3 separate regions of the Homo sapiens genome follow, and all the other regions are linked to region 2. Evidence: promoter capture Hi-C in 16 types of primary human blood cells and fetal thymus (Javierre and others, 2016). All regions are on one chromosome and are shown on one strand. Each heading gives the region's core, a stretch centred on a gene start or on the middle of the fragment in contact. The rest is flanking DNA. Distances are from core to core; before and after follow the strand shown.

What was found. The method cuts DNA at HindIII sites, captures the fragments that hold promoters and counts their contacts. A CHiCAGO score of 5 or more calls a contact.
Region 1: a fragment that was not itself captured here is called in contact with the fragment with the promoter of GPA33-AS1 in region 2 in 9 of 17 cell types (total CD8 T cells, naive CD4 T cells, naive B cells and 6 more); the score reaches 7.0 in total CD8 T cells.
Region 3: a fragment that was not itself captured here is called in contact with the fragment with the promoter of GPA33-AS1 in region 2 in 12 of 17 cell types (naive CD4 T cells, naive CD8 T cells, activated CD4 T cells and 9 more); the score reaches 10.3 in naive CD4 T cells.

What each region holds. Positions count from the first base shown.
Region 1 is chr1:166,946,385-166,950,687 of GRCh38, reverse strand. The region is part of intron 3 of ILDR2 (immunoglobulin like domain containing receptor 2); the gene reads left to right. All of the region lies in intron 1 of LOC124904449 (a long non-coding RNA gene), which reads right to left. Among named protein-coding and RNA genes, the nearest start is that of ILDR2, 27 kb to the left of the region's middle. RefSeq lists silencers at 202-496, 2,994-3,043. The HindIII fragment of the contact is 3,088 bases long and covers 1,083-4,170 here.
Region 2 is chr1:167,051,328-167,055,570 of GRCh38, reverse strand. It overlaps GPA33-AS1 (GPA33 antisense RNA 1), which reads right to left and starts at 2,886. Exons shown (of 6, transcript XR_922249.3): 1 at 2,805-2,886. GPA33 (glycoprotein A33) reads left to right here. Exons shown (of 7, transcript NM_005814.3): 6 at 460-595; 7 at 1,105-2,735. The coding sequence ends at 1,237. The HindIII fragment of the contact is 1,060 bases long and covers 2,778-3,837 here.
Region 3 is chr1:166,928,065-166,932,327 of GRCh38, reverse strand. The region is part of intron 6 of ILDR2 (immunoglobulin like domain containing receptor 2); the gene reads left to right. All of the region lies in intron 1 of LOC124904449 (a long non-coding RNA gene), which reads right to left. Among named protein-coding and RNA genes, the nearest start is that of ILDR2, 45 kb to the left of the region's middle. The HindIII fragment of the contact is 4,242 bases long and covers 1-3,995 here.

The DNA.
Region 1 (4,303 bases), core at 1,377-3,876, 100 kb after region 2:
GTTATTCTGCTTTAAAATAAACTTCTCCATCCACTAGTATTAAAAAGCCATATAGTATAAAATCAGTGAATTCTTGGGAGGGGACGTCTCAGAATTTGCGATTGACTTTAGGGATGTTTAATGGGAGCATGTGTCTTAAGGCTATGCAGAAATGCCCCCACACCTACCCCTGTGTTACTGCTGCCTCAGTTTGAATCCTGTCCACCCCCTACCCCTGTGACTTTAGTTCAGTCTCTTCAGAAAGGCTACTTGTTGCCAATGTTTCCCCTCTCTCCTTCTCCTTCTCTTTGCCAGCCCCAGCCTGGTGCCGCTAACCAAGGAGATTTGACGATTAAAAGGGCCTCAGCTCCCAGAGTTCCCATGGCAACAGCCTCCTTGGAGGTCTTTGTTGCCTGCTAAAACTTTGATCTCTGAGAGTGGCTGCTGCTGTTTCTTTCTAAGATTTACAAACAGAGGAAGAGGGAAAAAGAATGAGGGAGAAGGAAGAAAAAGTTTACTCCTGGCAGAAGGGAGAAAAGGAATTAATTACAGAGCCACACTTTCGCCATAAATTTGGAGGCTACTTCTTTGGAACATCTTTTGACTTGAGCTGTACCTACATTTTCATTTGTAAACTCAATTATGCATCAGATATGCTTCAGATTATGCGTCAGTAGAGTTGATTCCCCAAAGAAAGCAGAATCATCCTTTCTATCATCAGCAGACACCTGTGCCTTCAGGTTTCCAGAACAGCTGAAATAACTCCATAGTTTTCCATGAGAGACAGAAAACAAATGAGGAGTGGCTTTTCAGGCCTCAGCCCCACTGCCTTTTCTCCCAGCACTCTCTCCTAGCTTTGGCCTGCTCTGCCCTGAGCTTACCTAGATGCCTCTGCTGGTCTTGTTTTTAAAAAGAACCAGAAAAAAAATGCATTGAAGGGATGGAGGAGAGGGAAGAGCCAGAAAAGTTAGCCAAGTGTCAGCTAGAATCTGATTCTGGTTAATGACTGCCAATAACATTCATTCTACTGAATGAAGAGTGGAGTAGGGCTTGTGGTTCCTTCAAAGATGTGGGATCATGCCTTTCATTCTTTGCAAGAAGCTTCCTTTGGCCTTCAGACCTTTCTACTCCATAATCTCAACCTTGCTCTTTGATAGGCACCATGGAGTGGAGTCAGTTTTGCTTCAAGTATGATTTGTATTTAAATTATGATTTTAAAAAATGATTATTTTTTGCATATTATATCCCTAGCACAGTGAGGATACAAAATAAAGAAATGACAGTGTCTTGTCTCTATAAAAATTACTGTCTTTTGGTGAAGATAAAAGATATATTTCTGAAGCAGTTAGAGAACAATACAAGAAGATATTAAAGCTGTATTTGGATATTAAATATGTAGGCCATTGATTCTCAAGAAGGGGCAATTGTTGCCTTTCCAGGAGATATTTGGCAATGTTTGGAGATAGTTTTTGGTTGTCACAACTTGTGGGATGCTGTGGCATCTAGTGGGTAGAGACTAGGGAGGCTGCTAAGCATTCTACAATATGCAAGGCAGCTCTCCCATTCCCCAAAGGAATTATCTGGCTCCAGATAGAAATAGTGCTGAGGCTGTGAAACTGATCTTGACCAAAGGTCTCTCTGGATATTGGATAAAGTCCACTGTGAACAGCAGAGGCTTCAGGGTCAGACAGCCCTGGACTCAGTGCAGCAATATGAACTTGGACAAGTCAACGTCTATGAGCATGGGTTTCCTTAGCTGAATAAATGGGGAGGGGTAATAAAATTTACACGGAAGACCTATTGTGAAGATTAAATGCACAAAGAACTTAGTAAATGTTAGCTTCCTTCTCCCACCCCTTACCACTCCCCACACCACATCGCCAGCGTTTCATCTCTAATCTGAGGGAACCCTCTTTAGGGAATTCTACATTTGGAGACTCCTGCTAAAGAGCTGATTTTCCTTTAGCCCATTCCACGGGCAGAGGCTTTAATGGCCATCTGTGAATTGGCAATCCTATTGCTAATAGATTCACATTTTCTCAATGACATCTGTACTGTATTTTGCCAGTGGTGACCCTAATCAGCCCAGTGGAAATCTTCCTGCTAGTGGGTTTGAAAGCATTCTGTCCCAGCATGCTATCTTTTGGTTGCTGTTGGAAGCCCCCATTTCTCAGTGGATGACCCTTAGTTAATTGCAGGGTGTTTACTGCCTAACCTAAATACAAGGATTAGGTCACACAGGCCAGGCCATTTGATGAAGTCTGGAGGGATCTGAAGAACACTGGACTTGGATTAGGATCTGGGTGAGCTTGGGAAGACTTTAGATAGGGTGACTTTACAACTTATCATCCAAACTAGGATACTCTTGAGAGTGAAAAGGGGGGACTTTTAATAATTTCTGGCAAGACAACAGGCATAAACCGGAACTGTCTAGGCCAACTGGTATGATGGTCACCCATCTTTAGCTGCTGACCACCTTGAAGGGTCTCCCATAGATTGAAGAGAACAGAAGATCCAGAGGGTTGGGGGGGAAATTAGTGTCGGCTCACCTCCACCTGCTGAACCCTGCTGCTATCTGGCATTTCGTTCCTGGGGACCTATGTATGTGCACGTACATCTCCATTCATCTAGGTACCTGAATCGAGCAGAGGGGCCCAGCAAAGAGGTGGGGGTTTGACGTAATAGTTGTTTTCTGAAAAAATTGCCCTAAGATTTTTGAACCATAAATGACGTCGTTCGCGGCCGTTCACTGCCCTGTGTTAAGAGAACAAATGCGGTCTTGCAGGCGCTATTTCCCCTTCCCTAAGCCCCCAGCCACCCCGGTCGCGCCCGCCGCCCCCTCCTCGCAGCCTTTATTCCGCCTCACTATTTTTGCTTCACTTGTTGCTCATCACTGTGGGAGGAAACTCGGCCTTCAATTAGCGCGCATTCCTGGCGGCCCGCGGTTACCGTGGTTACCCCGGGCAGGAGCCGGAGCAGCTGGGTCAGCCGCGCGCTGCATTGTAGTCGGGTGGACCCGCGCCGGCCCGAGCGGGGGAGGAAACGGGGGCTGGGGGCAGGCGCGAGAGTGGGTGGCACCGAGAAATTGGCTCAGCCCCTGGAAAGAAAGAATGGCAGCTCTTGAAAGCCGGGCAGGAGACAGTTGTCCCATTTTTCTCCAAAGCCAGCTGCCGCTATTCAGGCGTGCAGGCTTGCGTTCACACGGGGGCTGTGCCTCCGACTTTGCTGAATTGGCTTCCCATGAGAGGGTCTGGGAAAGGCCCCATGCCAACCCCTTCACACTAAGGGGGCTGGCCACGGAGGAAAGGGCAGGAACTCTGACAGTTTGAGACCTACCAAGTGTGTGCCCCTCTGTGTCTGCCTGAGACCGCCAGGGCCTTTTTTGGTTAAAGAAAGTGGCCATTCTTGCTATCTTTGTATCTGTGGCAGTCTGATGGATGGAGCACAGTGACTTCAAGACACCACACTGGGCTCCAAGAAACTCACTTTCCCCGTTCCATGACATCCCACGCTCCTCCACGGCATTTTAAAGTCAATCTAGCAGTCTTCTGCATTTCACCTCAGGCCAAGTCGACCATGTTATATTTCTAATAATATTTTGTATTTATTCGCTCTCTGGGGGTGGAGGTTGAATCACTATAGCACTTTGTGAAGTCAGATTACTTTGCAATCATTTTTGTTGTTTATTAGTTTGTAGCAGCATGGTGAATGCCTTTCAATTAGCCCATACTGTGTTATGATGTATTCAGTGATCATTTTTTCCGGTTGCAACTTTAAAAGGTGCTGAAAATTTCAGTTATCTCCAACATTTCCTACATCCAAAAATTGTATTTTAATTACATAAGTAGAGCAGTAGTGCCAAAAACATGAACACATTTCAGGGTCATTCACTACAAATATTAGGAGACTAGAAGGCAGTTGGTGCACATTTCTAGATGAAAGATAAGCAAAGTTTTGGGGTGGTGAGATATTGGGAAAAAAACTGGAATTGGGGTGAGTACACCTGGTTGTATTCTTGGCTTGATCATTAGTGAATTGTGTGACTTGGGGTAAGATTCTTAACCTCTCAGAGCCTCAGATCCCTGAAACATAGGGTAGAATATGGACTAGATGACCTCTAAGATCCTTTCTAGTTATAAAATCTGATTCTAGGATTCTGTGGGAATAGAAGTCAGCTCCTTAGGCCAAGCTTATAACTACTGCCAAAAACAAAAACAAAAAACAAAAAACCAACCTCAAAGCATTTATTAACAGTTAATTGTAGATGGTCCAATACTAGTTATTTTATGGATAGAATTCGGTTTCAGAATTATTCTCCTTTAAG
Region 2 (4,243 bases), core at 1,637-4,136:
CCAGGCTCCCCTCACTCTGAGGCCAGTCCAGTTCCACTGGTGTTTGGAAGTGGAACCTAGGACTGACTTCTAGGACTCAGAGGCTTTGTCAGTCCCACCTGCCTAGGAACCACTCGGTGGGCGTGGAGGAAGTGCCCAGGGCAGCTGCCGCAGAGTCTGGACCACATCCTTCTGGGGTGAGACACCAAATCTAGCTTAAAGAGCTGGCTGGGCTGACATCTGAGGACTTTTGCAGAGCCAGGGTAGCCCGGAAAGTGTTAAGATGTGAAGTGGACCATATGTCTCTGTCTGCACCTCCATCCTGAAGAATATTCCTGGGCCATGGCTGGTCACATTCCTCCAAGACCATGCCTTTCATGGAGTGTTACCAGAAGCTGGTAGCTGCTGCTCCCCTGGCTGGGAGGAGACCCGGAGCTAGCTTAGAAGCTCGGCAAGTGCAGCTGCTCTGTCCTCTTGCAGCCTCCATGAACGTGGCCCTGTATGTGGGCATCGCGGTGGGCGTGGTTGCAGCCCTCATTATCATTGGCATCATCATCTACTGCTGCTGCTGCCGAGGGAAGGACGACAACACTGAAGACAAGGAGGATGCAAGGCCGTGAGTGTCTGGGCTGGTAGCCTGTTGGAAGGGTCTGGGGAGACTGGAAATATGCTTCCCAATTCCTCACAGCCTCTTCTACTTGCAGCACCCCTTGGGGTATATCACCCCCATTTTGTGCTGATGAAACAATGACCTGTCCAAGCCATAAAATGTGCATTGCAGCCCCAGGACCTGCCTCCCAGTCCTGTGGTTTTCCAGTCTGGGAGCTCAGGGCCGGGCTTCCTGTGGCATGACTAGAGCCAAGTGTGGCCTGGAGCCCCTGTCACGGGGCCAGTTCCTCCTGGGCTGGTAAAGCCAGCCTGTTCCTGTAACCCCCTCAGCTCATGCGTGGAACAAGTCTGTGGCACCTTTACTCTCAGCCCAGCCTTTCAGCCCAGTGTCCTCTGCAGCTGGTGGGTGGGGAGGAGGTCTGGAGGCTGCTCTTCCTGTAATGCACATGAGGCCCAGCTCCCTTGAGGGTCCACCTGAGAGCAAATCCTTCCCCTCTGTCCCCTGCTGCCCTGCAGGAACCGGGAAGCCTATGAGGAGCCACCAGAGCAGCTAAGAGAACTTTCCAGAGAGAGGGAGGAGGAGGATGACTACAGGCAAGAAGAGCAGAGGAGCACTGGGCGTGAATCCCCGGACCACCTCGACCAGTGACAGGCCAGCAGCAGAGGGCGGCGGAGGAAGGGTTAGGGGTTCATTCTCCCGCTTCCTGGCCTCCCTTCTCCTTTCTAAGCCCTGTTCTCCTGTCCCTCCATCCCAGACATTGATGGGGACATTTCTTCCCCAGTGTCAGCTGTGGGGAACATGGCTGGCCTGGTAAGGGGGTCCCTGTGCTGATCCTGCTGACCTCACTGTCCTGTGAAGTAACCCCTCCTGGCTGTGACACCTGGTGCGGGCCTGGCCCTCACTCAAGACCAGGCTGCAGCCTCCACTTCCCTCGTAGTTGGCAGGAGCTCCTGGAAGCACAGCGCTGAGCATGGGGCGCTCCCACTCAGAACTCTCCAGGGAGGCGATGCCAGCCTTGGGGGGTGGGGGCTGTCCTGCTCACCTGTGTGCCCAGCACCTGGAGGGGCACCAGGTGGAGGGTTTGCACTCCACACATCTTTCTTGAATGAATGAAAGAATAAGTGAGTATGCTTGGGCCCTGCATTGGCCTGGCCTCCAGCTCCCACTCCCTTTCCAACCTCACTTCCCGTAGCTGCCAGTATGTTCCAAACCCTCCTGGGAAGGCCACCTCCCACTCCTGCTGCACAGGCCCTGGGGAGCTTTTGCCCACACACTTTCCATCTCTGCCTGTCAATATCGTACCTGTCCCTCCAGGCCCATCTCAAATCACAAGGATTTCTCTAACCCTATCCTAATTGTCCACATACGTGGAAACAATCCTGTTACTCTGTCCCACGTCCAATCATGGGCCACAAGGCACAGTCTTCTGAGCGAGTGCTCTCACTGTATTAGAGCGCCAGCTCCTTGGGGCAGGGCCTGGGCCTCATGGCTTTTGCTTTCCCTGAAGCCCTAGTAGCTGGCGCCCATCCTAGTGGGCACTTAAGCTTAATTGGGGAAACTGCTTTGATTGGTTGTGCCTTCCCTTCTCTGGTCTCCTTGAGATGATCGTAGACACAGGGATGATTCCCACCCAAACCCACGTATTCATTCAGTGAGTTAAACACGAATTGATTTAAAGTGAACACACACAAGGGAGCTTGCTTGCAGATGGTCTGAGTTCTTGTGTCCTGGTAATTCCTCTCCAGGCCAGAATAATTGGCATGTCTCCTCAACCCACATGGGGTTCCTGGTTGTTCCTGCATCCCGATACCTCAGCCCTGGCCCTGCCCAGCCCATTTGGGCTCTGGTTTTCTGGTGGGGCTGTCCTGCTGCCCTCCCACAGCCTCCTTCTGTTTGTCGAGCATTTCTTCTACTCTTGAGAGCTCAGGCAGCGTTAGGGCTGCTTAGGTCTCATGGACCAGTGGCTGGTCTCACCCAACTGCAGTTTACTATTGCTATCTTTTCTGGATGATCAGAAAAATAATTCCATAAATCTATTGTCTACTTGCGATTTTTTAAAAAATGTATATTTTTATATATATTGTTAAATCCTTTGCTTCATTCCAAATGCTTTCAGTAATAATAAAATTGTGGGTGGAAATTCTTATTTCTTTTTTAATGTGGATTTTGTTTGCAGTAAGATAAAGCTTGGGTCTCATGGATCATCTCTACTCACCATAGCACTCTTCTGCTTCCTAGGGGAGGTGAGACAAGGTAACAGATTTGAGAATCCTGGGGTCCCTCTGCTTGTGGCCGCAGTAGGGTCAGGCAGTGCCTCTAGTGGTTGCTGGGAATAGGACAGATTCCTGCCTGCTGGTGGAGGTATATTCCAGGAGTCTGCAGTGTCAGGACACCAGGAGGCCTGGGTGTCGGTCCACGTGCTTGAAGGAAGATGGTGGAGATGCTCTAGCCAGTTCTGCTTCCTATGATGCCCCTTCTGAGAAAGGGGCGGGGCAGTCCTCTTGTTCTGTCACAGAGAACTGTGACGCTTCCTCCTCCAAGGCAACTTCGCTCCGCTGTGGGCTCTTGGCTTTGACATGGACTCTCCTGCGAGATATTCAAGGTCTGTTCTTCAGTGTCCTTTCCTGTGCTCCCTCCTGTCCGAGCACTTGTCACACAGTACTGTGTGCCTATTATACCTGTGTACAGGTCTGTCTCTGCCTCACCCTGTATGATTTGTAAGGATAGGAACTGTAGCTTCTTTATGGCCTGGCATGTGTTGACCCTTGACAAAGGTTTGTTAAATGAATAACATTTGGTATCACAGTATCTTGCCCAAGGACATCTCCTAGCTCTCTAGATACTCTGAGGTGCCTTCCAGTCCTCACGGTGCAAGGTTCCACAAGCATGTTCTTGAGGGAGCCACGGAAGCAGAGGCGGCCACCTTCCCCCAGGTTTGACTTGACTTCTCTCTGCCCCTCAAAGGACTCTGAAGGTTCACCTGCCTTAGCTCCAGGCTTAGGGAAGAAAAGGAGGGAAATCGAGACCCACTGCATTAATTCAACAACAAATATTTTGTGAGCATCTACTACGTGCCAAGCAGTGTGCTGTTTGCAGAGTATATAAAAGTCACTAAGAAACTGTTATTCAGGAGGAGCTAAAATCTAATGGCGGTCACAGACATAGAAACATAATTACATGAGCAAGAGAAGGGGCTACAGGACACAGGAGGGCCTGAGTAACTCAGCCTAAGGGAGTTCAGGAAAGCTTCAGAGAGGAGGTTGCATTTGGGCTGCATCTTGAAGAAGAATGAGGAGTTTTACAAGTGGAAAAGGGCTGGTGCTGACATTTCTTCTGTCCTCCAATGCATGTTTCTATTACTTGGGTGTCAAATCATATTATCACTCAGTAAGACTACAGTTTCCTGCTGAATTTATTTCGGTCCACAGACTCTGGGAATTGGACTGTTGTAGGTTCTTATACAATCAAAATTAGCCCAGCAATGCAGTCTCCTTAGAATGTTAGGCATCCCTTCCCAAATTATGGTTTCCAGCTGCTGGTTCAAAGACTTTATGGTGTTTTAGAAGAGAGACAAATGCTACCCATTAATTGAGGGAAGATTGTGTACTATAAACCCTTATTAGGCACTTCAGACAGTTTTCCATATAATCCCCA
Region 3 (4,263 bases), core at 625-3,124, 120 kb after region 2:
TCTCACCAACTCCCCAGCTCCCTTCCATCTTGCTATTGCTTTCACCATTCCAGAAACCAGCTCTTGCTAAGATTGTCTGATTGCTAAATTTAATGGATCCTTTTCAATCATTACCTCCTTTGACTTCTCAAAAGCATTTGCCACTCTGAGGCGCTCATCTTTCTTTGCCTTTCTCAGCACTGTACTTTGTAATTTTTCTTACCTATCTCTGTGTATGCTGGGTGTTCTTCCACTGTACATCCTCCAGATGTTCCTGTTTTGTTTGAGGTCCTCTCCCTGGGAAACCTTATTCACTCCTGTGGCTTCAATCATCATCTATATGCTGATGACTTCTGATCATTATCTCCAGCCTCTCTTTTGCTCCTCAATACCGTATATCCAACTGTCTTCTGGACATCTCCACCTGGGTGTTTTGCAGGCATTTCAACCTCAGCCCCTAGGAAATTGAATTAATCTGCTGCTTCTTCACTTCGAACCAGCTTCTACATATCTTATCTCAGTGGATGGCATTGTTGTCCACCTTTTAGCCCAAACCAGAAGCAGAGACTTCATCCTTATCCCTTCCTTCTCCCCCACTTCCCTCATCCAATTGGTCACCAAGTCCTTTAGATTGTAACTCAAAATAACCTTGAGTTGGTTTCCTTTTCTCCATCTCTACTGAAACTGTCCTAGTCCTTGCTGCCATTACCTCCCACCTTGCTTAACACAATCATCTCCCACCTGGTCCTTCCACATCTACTCTGCTTTGCTCTAATCCATTTTGTTTCCACATCTACCTGTCCTCCACCCATTCTTCATGCAAAAGAATTGAGTAGGCAAGTAGGGTTTTGAAATGTCATTTTCAAAATTAATAAGGATGTGTATCTATATATATGCCTACTGTATGTATACAGAGAATATGCAAATTTTAAGAATCACTTCTCCCACAGCTGAGCTGCTGTCACCTTGGGGGTGGAATCTGGCAGCTGTTCCATCATCCATAAACAGCTTTACTTAGCTTATTAAGATAGGACAGGAAGAACAAGGCTATATCCATGAGTATCTGCCTCGGAGACTTCTTTTGCAAGTTTTACAAGTTGGATTTTGGCTGTAATGAGGAAATTAGCTGAAAACTACCTAAACCTTAATTGGGTCAAAAGTATCAGCAAAAATCCTTTAACAATAAGAATTTTTAAAATTATAGTTTGGCATCAAAGTGAATATCCCAATATCCCCTCTCCAAAAATTGAAGTTGGCAAGGCTAATAAATTAGAGGAGGTGAAGTATGAAGAGCCACAGCAGCCAAATGACTTGGGCCAGACTGAACTTGAAAACAGATAAATCATCCATCAATCTTAAACTGAAACATCACTGGGGAAAAAGGTCATTTTCCAAATATGCTGAACTTTGGCCAATAGTCTAGGACATTTCTTATTAAAACATCACCATACGTCCCAGAGAGTTCTGTGATCTTCAGACAAATTACAGATAAAAATCAATCTGACACCATGCTATTTGCTGTCAAATCAAGAAAAATTTAATGAACGCTAACAAATTTTACCTGCCGTCAAGGAATGTACAGTCTACCAGGTGGTTGCTGGGGCTTGTAAGTGGAAATAAAATGAGTAAGTAATACAAGGCAGTATAAGATTGATCCATAATGCCAGCTCAGAAAGGAAAATCTCATCCTTGGAGAGGAGGGACCAGGAAAGGTTTTCTGGTGTTTCATATGCTCCTCAGAATGTATGTGACATAGAGCCAGATTCTACCAGGATCAGAGAATAGTTTAGTATATTTGAACTTGTAGCTTATCATTTTTAAAAAGTCCAATAGCTTTTAGAAGGAGAATTGCCCAGGTTTTTAGCTACTGAAACCAAATGGATGATACTCCTAAAGTCAAAAGATCAATACTTTGCCTCTGTCTTTTTTGACAAATTAGAGGAATTTAGATTTCTGAAGTCATGGGCTGCTGTGACTAAGAAGTCAAGGCTGAAAGTATCTGGTACAGTGGAGTCTCTTTATAATGCCAGCACTGAAGGCAAAACTATCATCTTCATTTGAGGCTATAAATGGTTACTGTAACTTTTCAGGGACATGATAACCTATGCATACACAATCAAATCTGTATCATAATGAGGAGTGTAATTTGTTATAATGACATAGAAAACTATGCTCTAGTCCAAGTGGCAATTAACTGAGGATCCTCCAGCTGCTTCTCAGGGTGGCAGCCATCTCTCACCGACCATGTCTGTCTGCCAGGGCACAGCTGGTACATTGTTCCATATAGCAACAACTTTATGGGCCCCCTCCCCCATGACCTCTAGTGCAGTATCACTGAATGTTTACCATAACAGTGCTTCAGAAATTAGAACACCTAGATAAAACCACAGCTCCAGGTAGGGTAGGCCCTTTTCATAATGCATACAGACATGCTAGTTTTCCTTAAAAAAATTAATAATAATAATAATCATGATACCCAGACTTTTCTACGATCCAAGCCTTTCCCTTCCTGATCAAAATTCTCCAATAAACCGCCCATATGGCCTCATCTGCTATATGTTGTAGTCTCTTATAATATGGTTTCTATTCCCAGTTTCTCCTCATTCATTCACTCATTCCTTCATTCATTACAAACACACATATTTCAAATGTCTACAATGTGCCAGGCTCTATGCTAGGTGCTGGGGATACAGAAGCGAACCTAGTCCTTGCTCTCAGGAAGTTTGCAGTCTAGAGGGGAAAACTCTACTGAAAATGCACTTCTCAAAGAAACCATTAACCCTGCCCCAATTCCCAGGCTGACAGCAATGCAACGAACATTTTTTAAGTTCCCCACTATGTGTAAAGCATGGTTTTAGGCACATGGAGATCCAGAACCATAAGGATTCTTTTCCTTCAAGAATCTTTGAGAAGATTAGACATTTATACAGATAACTTGAAACAAACTAGAATATATTAAGGGCCATAATAAAATTCAAACTGAATGATTTGTAAGTTAGAGAGAGAGACAGAACTTTTCAAGCTATGAGAATCAAAGAAAGCCCTTTGGCTGAGGCAGCATTTGAGCAGCTCCTGATAATGATAGAGAACTCAAAGTGCTCCACTGATTTGGTCTTAGTTGTCCTCTCATCTTTAAGAGATTATTTAAAGGTTGGCAAGTATTCATTGCATTTTATAGACATGAAAACTGAGTCCTACATAGGTCACCATTTCTTTGAGGTCCCTCAATAAATAGCACTGCATGCCTACACAATGCCCAGTTCCCCACTTCCCAGGCTGGAGTCTCATCCATCAGACATAACTGCCTCCAGAACAGACATAGCAGTTCTGTGGGATAATTGCATTTTAATTGAACTGTCTGTACGACTCAGTAAATGCCTTTGTAGAGATGGAAGAATGTTTAGCTTGATAAATAAAATTATTTCTGCTAATCATTGCTTCCACACAAGGATTATGGATCTAACCTCTGGGAGAAAGTGCCACTAAAAAGTGTGTGCTGAGATTCATTAATTTTTTTTCTAAGTAATTCCACAATTTGAGATGAATGTGGACTGCCCAGTATATTCTCATATAGAAAATCGGTGCACCTGCAAATGGGTGTGTGGGTGACTTCTGTTTTTAGTGCTTGGACTACAATTAGAGTGCTATGGAATTTTATATTTTAATCTTCCATGTAAATAGCTTGCGTGGGAGGGTTTTGTCCGCAGCCAGGGTAACATGGCCAGACACTATACAGCAGGGTTTTCTCTGAATTTACATGCAGTCATATGGTTTCTTTATGGTGTTTGCCCCACTTTGGGAACAGGGAATGCTGGAGTTAGGTCACTAGCTTACATCCCATTGAAAAGTCCTTAATAGCTGGAATATAGGACCATGCTGTGCAGACCATACAACCCATGGCATAGCTAAAGCAGTTCTTACTCTGGGCTTTCCTTCCTTGTTTTTCTCACCTGTCTCTTCTCACTACCTCTCTTCTTAGACTCTAGAGAGGCAAGATGCCCAAATATGGTTAAGCTTCCATCAGACTACATGGTTCCAGCCCTGGCACTGCTAAATTTTTCCTGGGCAAGTTATGAAACCCCTCTGACCCAAAATTTTCTCAAACATAAAATGTGGCTGATAACAGTACTGTTTTAGGTGGTTCTGAGGAACAAATGTCCATGTAAAGCATTTAGCACAGTACCTAGCACATTTTCAGTGCCCAGTAAGTACTGACTAATTACCATTATTTTTCAGTACCCATCCCATCATTCCCTTCTCTCTTTCGTTTTTTCCTCTTTCTCT